Linked DNA regions of Homo sapiens: all the other regions are linked to region 2. The links are contacts of gene promoters, found by promoter capture Hi-C in human tissues and cell types (Jung and others, 2019). All regions are on one chromosome and are shown on one strand. Each heading gives the region's core, a stretch centred on a gene start or on the middle of the fragment in contact. The rest is flanking DNA. Distances are from core to core; before and after follow the strand shown. Region 1 has its middle 56 kb from the start of PCED1B. Region 2 holds the start of SCAF11 (SR-related CTD associated factor 11). Region 3 overlaps PCED1B (PC-esterase domain containing 1B).

Evidence for each region. Contacts are between HindIII fragments. The study calls those that stand out against the background at their distance.
Region 1: a fragment that was not itself captured here is called in contact with the fragment with the promoter of SCAF11 in region 2 in 1 of the 25 tissues and cell types used here (lymphoblastoid cells).
Region 3: a contact is called between a fragment that was not itself captured here and the fragment with the promoter of SCAF11 in region 2, in 1 of the 25 tissues and cell types used here (IMR-90 fibroblasts).

The regions. Positions count from the first base shown.
Region 1 is chr12:47,022,711-47,025,467 of GRCh38, forward strand. No RefSeq gene overlaps it. Among named protein-coding and RNA genes, the nearest start is that of PCED1B, 56 kb to the right of the region's middle. The HindIII fragment of the contact is 4,816 bases long and covers 1-2,757 here.
Region 2 is chr12:45,989,104-45,991,895 of GRCh38, forward strand. SCAF11 (SR-related CTD associated factor 11) reads right to left here and starts at 1,471. Exons shown (of 15, transcript NM_004719.3): 1 at 1,250-1,471. RefSeq lists silencers at 545-614, 1,015-1,114, 1,455-1,504 and enhancers at 765-814, 1,175-1,384, 1,193-1,906, 1,625-1,824, 1,835-1,904 and 1 more. The HindIII fragment of the contact is 22,524 bases long and covers 1-2,792 here.
Region 3 is chr12:47,219,076-47,222,131 of GRCh38, forward strand. The region is part of intron 3 of PCED1B (PC-esterase domain containing 1B); the gene reads left to right. Among named protein-coding and RNA genes, the nearest start is that of PCED1B-AS1, 4.2 kb to the left of the region's middle. RefSeq lists enhancers at 1,567-2,067, 2,363-3,056. The HindIII fragment of the contact is 4,388 bases long and covers 1-3,056 here.

The DNA.
Region 1 (2,757 bases), core at 98-2,597, 1.0 Mb after region 2:
GCATTGTCTTATTTGCCATAGGTAAATCAACAGGAAAGCGAAGTATAAACAGTTAACTCAGACTAGTATATTACCCAGGGTTTTATACTGGTTGATCTGCCATTATTCCAGAGGCAAGACTACAAATCACTTGGATAACATGATCCTGCAATGTCAAGGTAGGTAAATAACTTGTGAGAGTTTTTAAATGATGCCATCACCACTGCAGAAGAGTATATTTACTCCTTCTGCTTTCCTTAAAATGGCTAGCATTAGGCTCTTTATTCAGAAATTTTTATATTATAACATACCTTATCTTATATCATTATCTTCTCCCAACAATCTATTAGGCCAACGTGCTAGATCAGTGATGTTACTTTAAGGCCCTCTCAATCTTTTTTAAAAGTTGTAAACAGACCACTGTGCCACGTAAAGATTAAAGTGTAAAGACTGAGACTTCAAGAATAAATTTTAATGCTGTGATCATATAATATATAAATTTTGCCAAACTACTTTTTGAGCTGCATGCTAATTAAATACAATGCTTAACAACCACTGATACACACACACACACACACACACACACACACACACACACACATAGAACTACTTTTACATAGCTAAACCAAGAAATGGGAAAGCTTGTTACTTTGTTTCTAGATTCCTGGATTCATAATTCAAGGGCATTGTGATAGATCTCCTTTGTTGTTCTTCCTATATCCACCCCTCCCTCCCCAAGCCAATGGAACCTTAAGTTCGTTCAGGTGGCTGCTGAGATCTTTCCCTCTGTCGAGTATTTATGGATGGGTTTAAACCAATCGTGATTCATCCCAGGGCCAGGGATAAATTATGATTGGTCTAAACCAGCCTTAGTAATCTTAGTAATCTTGTAACTTTGTCTGGGAATGAAGTGACAAATTTTGGTCAATGAGATGAAAGCAGAAGTTTTTGAATGAGCCTCCAGGGCTTGTCTTTCTGATTAACACAGATAACATAGAAAAGAACTTTTGTCTTTCTGATTAACATTGATAAACTTACAGAAGACAGCCTTTGCCTTTCTCTTCTCTTCTGCCTGCAATGAAGACATAGTCCCTGGAGGCACAGCAGACATTTGTGACCATAAGATGACAAGCCTGAGGACAAAAGTCAACTTTTATTTTTTGAGACGGAGTCTCATCCTGTGGCCCAGGCTGGAATACAGTGGCATGATCTCGGCTCACTGCAACCACATCCCCGGTTCAAGGGATTCTCATGTCTTAGCTTCCCTAGTAGCTGGGACTACAGGCATGCACCACCATGCCCAGCTAATTTTTGTAATTTTAATAGAGACGGGGTATCACCATGTTGGCCAGGCTGATCTCGAACTCCTGACCTCAGGCGATCTGCCCACCTGCACTTCCCAAAGTGCCAGGATTACAGGCGTGAGCCATCTCACCTGGACAAAAGTCAATTTTCTAAGGATGATGCAACAGGATGATAGGTCTCTGACAGCATCGCTGAGTTCATTGAATAGCTGTATCAGGACGTTTCTTACCTTTGGATTCCTTGCAATGTGACAAAAAGTTTTATTTATATAAGCTATTGTTTGTAGGGGTTTCTGTTACTTGCAGCCTCATGTATTAGGTTGAACCATATGATATGTTGTAAACAAAAATAGTTGAAGCTTAGCAGATTTCTATGATTCAACCAATTTTATGAATTGATGCTGAATTCAAGACCCTTTCACTTCTCCAGCAATCAAAACCTCTCCTTTTCCTCTCTCCTGCCACCTGATACCACACAAAATAGATCTTTATATATATATATTTCTGACATTTAATCAATGATGTGCTGGTAAACTAGTTTGTTAGGAGGAAAAGCCCTGATTTGTACTGTATTTATGGTATAACTACTCCCACTATGTCTCATTTTAAGCTTCCAGCTTGAGGTCACTGAAAAAGGAGTTGGAAAGAAATGCTCGCAATCAGCTCTTCTGAGCTGCTACTACAGCCAGCTCCAGCATGCCACTGCCCACGCATTGGCCAAAGCTCTGTTACAGTGTATGATGGTCAGAGCTAATGTTAGAAAGTAATTTATTATCCTTACTATTATTCTCTTTGTAGCATTGAGACAAAGATACAAGAAAAATATAATATATCCAATAATTATATGATATATATGCTAAGTACATATTATGTACACATAAAATAATTATAAAATACAATAATTATATCATATAATTAGGATATGGGGAAATTGACAAGATAAATGTAGATCTTTGCCCTCTGATTCATTTAGATCTAGTAAAAAAAACTAAAGAAAATGTGTCAGAGTAGCCACCAAGGAGACATAAAATAGTATGAATTTTTACCAACAAAATAACTTATAATTTTGATATAATTATAATTCTACATTATGGCTTTATTATAATTTATAAGAATATATAATTTTACCAACAAATTAATTAATATGAATTTTTACCAACTAGCTCTTCTATTGCCTAACTTTTATCAGTTATCTCTAATGGGTAAGAAAGAAAACCAAGATATCCTTCACTGGTTATTCATTTTTTGAAAAAGCTGTATTCTGTTGCAGTTAAAGAAGATGAAGCATTTGACTTCCATTTGGGACAGTGACCTTTATAAAATACCGCCCTCCCTCCCCCAAACCCTCAGCCCCCAAACTCATTTTCTCTAGCTGTTGAATGCCAAAAATCCATTTAGTTTTCAAACATTGCCTTTTTTCTATTAGTTTTAGGTAGCTGGTCCAAGAAATGATTGAGATTCTTCCCAGTTTAAA
Region 2 (2,792 bases), core at 221-2,720:
AGAAACAGACTTGATTACATGTCAAAATTTTAATACAATTACTAATAAAATACAAAAACCAACCGTTATTTTAAAATGTACTGCCCTGATATTCTGCTGCTGAGGTAGGTGGTGATATGTAGAAATTAATTTTTCTTTTAAAACGAAAAAATAATGCATTTATTAATATGCTTTTCCCAAAATTCGGGGAAAATTCCCAAATCGGAGAAAAAAATTTAACATCAGCATCTACTACACAAAGCATTAAAAACATTTTTCAGCAGTTTTGCTTAAGTATCTTAGGTCAGTGGTAGCATGTTAGCCAAAATGTAATCCAAAATGAATGAACAACAGTCAGCTGGTAGACACTGTATGTAATACAATACGGAAATATATTGGAAGTATTTCAAAATTCAACATTTGAATCCGTGAATGTCTAAATCAAGTACTCTAAATCAGGCGTCTACTTTTGAAACAATACTTCAAAATACGTGTTGGTGGCAAGACCGCCAGCCATCTGTAGGAAATCTTTTTAATGGTTCAAAATTCCTAGGTCTCAGAAGGGGCGACTGATTAGGCTAAATTTATATCTCCCGGCCCCGTAGTTGTCAGCCCAGGTAGCGAATTTAAAACACTGGGGGTGGATGAGTAGTTTGAAGTTCAGATCAAGGAGTGAAAAAGGCTGATGCTTAGAAGCGCCGGCTCTTCCCCATTCGCGCACTCGAGAGGTCACGGCGTAGTAAAGTTTGGTTTCACTAGCGGGCTTGGACGCTCGCGACCAAAGTCTCCCAAGAAAAGCCGACACCGCGGTCGGGAGCGCCCGGAAGCTCAGCAGGACACGTTTCCACTGCAGGGAGGAGGGTGTCTGTGGCGGTTCTGGCGTGGAGCCCCTTCCCCCCCCCCCGTAGGACCCTGCACCCGGACGGGGACAGGCTTCGCCAGCTAAGGCGGCGGGAGACGCGTAGGCCACAAGGAGGAAATGGGACAGAGTGCGACAGAGAGGCGGCGGCGGCCCAGGGCCGGGCCGAGCCTCCCTCGCGGGGCAGCGAGAGGGAAAGGGGCCCTCCCGGCCGCAGCCTCCCCCACTTCGAGAGGTAGCTCCAACTTTCCTCCCAGCGCACGACGTCGCACGGGCCGCGCGAGATTCCGAAACTTTGTCAGCCCTCGCGTCGCCCTAGGCCCGCTCCAGCGCTCTGCGCCGGCCGCTAACCCTCGTCTCTCCCAGACAGCTGCCCAAGCCCATCCACCCCGCGGGTCGACCAGTGTTTACCTCAGACCGAGGTCGAGGCGCTCGGTCCGGCCGCGGCCCCACAGTAGGTTCCCAGGTCCCAGTCACTCCGCTGCCAAGTTCCCCAACATGGACTCCTTCGTCCGCTTTGTGGTGTTACAGGGTCTCTAGGACACTGACTCCGCTGGCTCGGTCCGGAGGCGGCGGCGAAGCAGGGAGCGACCCAGGTTGCGCTGCTCCGCGCGGCTTAAGCCACCGCTACTCCCCCTTCCCCCGCCTTGTCTAGCCTCCTCCCTCCCCTCCCCTCCCTGCGCGTCTCCCTCCTCCTCCCTTCCCTCGCTGTCGGCGCGCTAAGGTGACGACGGCGGCAGCCGGACTCGCCACATTCTGCTTACTCGCTCGCTCTGGCCCTGAGTGCATGTTCGTAGTACCCAGTTGGGCCGCAGGGGGGCGCTGGCAAACTGCTGTTTGAGACCGAGAAGCGTGGTGGGTGGAGTCACGTCACGCGGCCTGTGAGCGGGAGGAAGGGCAGCTGCGCTGGAGGGGCCTTCTGGGAAACGTCCTTCCAGCACCGCCCTTCGCCCACACTGCGGATGGTGCGCATGCGCAGCGCGTGGACTTTGGCCTCTGCCCTCCTTTGGCAGTTTTACAGGCTGCGTCGCGGAGGACAATGAAAGAGGCTTTAAGGGAACTGGACAGGAAGGATTTTGCGCAGGGTGTGCTCCTTATCTTTATGGTAATCTGATATTGAAAAGAGTGTCCGCATGTTTGCGGTGGATTGAGTGTTCACCTGGCTGCGCTGCCCACCTGAAATGCAGCCTGTGGAGTGAAGAGTCGGCAATTTGGAAGCCCACCTTTCCTCCTTTCTGGTGGGCATTTTTTTAGATGCCAGGGGGAGAGCTTTCCCGCCTGACTCCCCGAGCCTAGGGGCTTTCCCATGTCTTAACCCCACATCACAAAATTAAATTTGGGCCAGGTGCGCGGTGGCTCACGCCGGTAATCCCAGCGCTTTGGGAGGCCGAGGCTGGCGGATCGCTTGAGCTCAGCAGTTCGAGACCAGCTTGAGCGACGTATTAAGATCTCGTTTCTACAAAAAATAAAATTAACCGGCCGTGGTGGCGCGCACCTGCGGTCCCAGCTCCTCGGGAAGATGAGGTGGGAGAATCGCTTGAACCCGGGAGGCGGAGGTTGCAGTGAGCCGAGATCGTTCCACTGCACTCCAGCCTGGGCGACAGAGCGAGACCCTGTCTCAAACAACAACAAAAACTTTATCATTATTTACTTAAAAGGCCTCCGCGTTGTGGTTAGATAGTGACGTGTGTGCCATCCTCCACTTTTTCCCCCGGCGGGTTGTTAAATGTTTTGTTTTACCTCGGAGGTATTTTGACTTTTTCAAAGTCACTGATTATTTAACCTCCTAGTTTCTCTTCTCGTCGACTGCAGCAAGCTTCCGGTTGCTCTGCCTGCCCTCAGTGTCCCCCATCTACCAGCTGACCTTCCAGTCCTCCCACCCACGCCCTTGTCCTGCTTGCGGCTCCCGCAGGACTAAGCTCTGCTCCCCGCGCGCGGCTCACCCAGGTCCCAG
Region 3 (3,056 bases), core at 25-2,524, 1.2 Mb after region 2:
GGATGTAGCGAGCCAAGATTGCACCACTGCACTCCAGCCTGGGCAACAGAGTGAGACTCTATCTCAAAAAACAAAAATAAAAAAGTTTCTTTTTCCATAGAAACACTATTACACATAGAATTTAAATACTACAAAAATGGTAACAATAATGATAGCAACAATAATAAAATAATGTCCATTTTTAAAACTCTTTTGGGTAATCCCTTCAGAGGAGCATAGGTGCTATTTCCCCCATTTAAGAAGTAAAAAACTAAGTAGCACAAAGATAAAGTAAGCATTAGAGGTGGAAGAAATCCAGGCCTGCTGACTCAACCCTAGATTCCTGTTACTGAGTAAATGGACTTTTGTAGCTAGTCCTGGAGCAGAATTGTCACAATCCAACCTGTTCATCAGTTGAAAGCACTCGTCATTATTAGCTCTCCAATCGCCCTTGTTTTTCATCCATGGGAACTTTTAATTCAGCCACTGGTTGGAATCTAGAGTAGTCAGCATAAGCCTAAACATTTGAAACACAAATATAGCTTTAGTGCAGCACTGGGTTTTCCATCGGCTTTTAAGAAGACTAGCTAACAGAGTGATGAAAATCGAACTAAGTTATTTCACACCTGCTTTGTTTTCTCATGGAAAAATTTAAAGCTGTGCACAAAATATTGTTTTGTTTTTCAACAGAGAATAACAAGGAAAGCTACATGCAAATATTTCTTTCTAGATAATATGATTTTTTTTCTTCTTAATTTAAACAAGTATTTATAGCTGAGATTAAAAGCTCAGGCTTTGGAGCCATACTTCTTCCTAAAGAAACAAAAGGAAACCTTAAGCTTATCTAATTATTCAGAAGATTCACTGTCAATAATGGGTGTGGTGGCATGAGCCTAAAGTCCCAACTACCTAGGAGGCTGAGGAGGGAGGATTGATTGAGCCTGGGAGGTTGAAGCTGCAGTGAGCCGTGATCATGCCCCTGTACTCCCAGGTGACCAAGGGAGACACTGCCTCAAAAAAAAAAAAAAAAAAAAAAGAAGAAGAAGAAGAAGATACATTGTCAAAAGAATAGTTCTGCCATTTACTAGCTGGGCAACCTTAGGCAATTTATTTATTTATTTTTAATTTATTTTTTGAGACAGAGTCTCATTCTATTGTCCAAGCTGGAGTGCAGTGGCGCGATCTTGGCTCACTGCAACCTCTGCCTCCCGGGTTCAAGCAATTCTCTTGCCTCGGCCTCCTGAATAGCTGGGATTACAGGTGTGTGCCATGACACCAGGCTAATTTTTGTATTTTTAGTAGAGACTGGGTTTCACCATGTTGATCAGGCTGGTCTCAAACTCCTGACCTCAGGTGATCCACCCACCTCGGCCTCCCAAAGTGCTGGGATTACAGGCGTGAGCCACTATGCCCAGCCAACCTTAGGCAATTTATATAACCTCTCCATGCCTCAGTTTACTTATCTATAAAATGGAGATAATAATACTTCCTCCTTCACCGGGTTGTGAGAATGGAATAGGCCTGGCACAAAGTGAGTGCTCAGTGAGTGCCGATGATTACTAGGCACAGGCACTGGGCCCTGAGGGGTACAAGGATGGGTGAGACCCACTTCTGCCATCCAGAACTAGCATAGAGTGGGATAGAATGGCACATGGGCAGTTAATTATAGAACAAAACAGAACCAAAGGTTAAGTAGAGGCATCCCTCAGAGGAAGGAGAGATTTTTCTATCTAGGAGAGTAGGGAAGGCTCTCTGACAAAATTGTCTTTTAACGTGAGTCTTAATGAAGGAGCAGAATTTCAGTAACAGGAAAGGGTTGGGGAACATTCAAAGGTGAGTCACAGAGACAAACATAAAGACATGAGAAAAGGCCCTCTGGGCTTATACAAACCCTATGGTTCCCTGCGGGCTTTCAGAAGATCCCAAGAAGAAAGGATCATATCCCAAGACATAAAAAGTTTACAGAATGCAAAATGTTGGAATTATTCTAACATATTAAATGAATTTGAAACTTTAAAACCTAGATGATGAAGTTTTATGTAAGAAAACATATAAAATTAAAACTATACCAATTAAAAAATAATGTTTTAATCAAAGACACACTTTTTAAGGACTAAGAAAAATTGGGGGAAAGTAAAATATTTAACCATAAAACTGAAAACAAATGTGACATTGATCACTGTGCTCAGCTTCCCAAAATATATATTGCAACATTCCCCTCCTCCCTAAGCTATATCTTCAAAATATATATATTGTTTCCAATATTTGTTAGACATCAAAATTCTTTTTTTTTTTTTTTTTTTTTTTAAGAAAGGGATATCACCATGTTGTCCAGGTTGGTCTTGAATTCCTGGGCCAAGTGATCCTCCTGCCTAAGCTTCCCAGAGTGCTGGGATTACAGGTGGTGAGCCACCACGCCCCGCCAACATGAAAATTTTTAAATGATTGCCAGGATACAGATCAACCTAAGGATTTCTTCACAATTAAAACAAAACCAGTCATCAAAAATAAAAATGACTTTATCCACACATTTCAGAAGCAAAGTATATTTCCACCCAATTATGTATTCCCAGCCAGTGCTTCAAGAAAAATTATACAGCAGCTCTCTGAAATTGCCTGGTGAGAATGTGCTGCCATCATTCCCATTGTTGGTCAATGCAATATTTACATTTAGGGAGACTGTTCAAAGGTCACAAGACAATTATTTGAGAAATTCAGCCACAGTTTGATGGGAAGATAAATGAGTGTCTAGAGAAGTGGGAAGTGGCTGGGCATGGTGGCTTATGGCTGTAATCCCAGCACTTTGGGAGGCCAAGGCAGGAGGTTTACTTGAAACCAGGAGTTCAAGACCAGACTGGGCCACAAAGCAAGAGCCTGTCTCCACAAAAAATTTTAAAAAATTAGCTGGGCATGGGATGCACACTTGTGGTCCCAACTACTTGGCAGGCTGAGGCAGAAGGATCTCTTAAACCTGGGAGATAAAGGCTGCAGTGAGCCATGATCGCACCATGGCACTCCAGCCTGGGTGACAGAGTGAGACTCTATCTCTTAAAAAAAAAATTAAAAAAAAAAAAAAA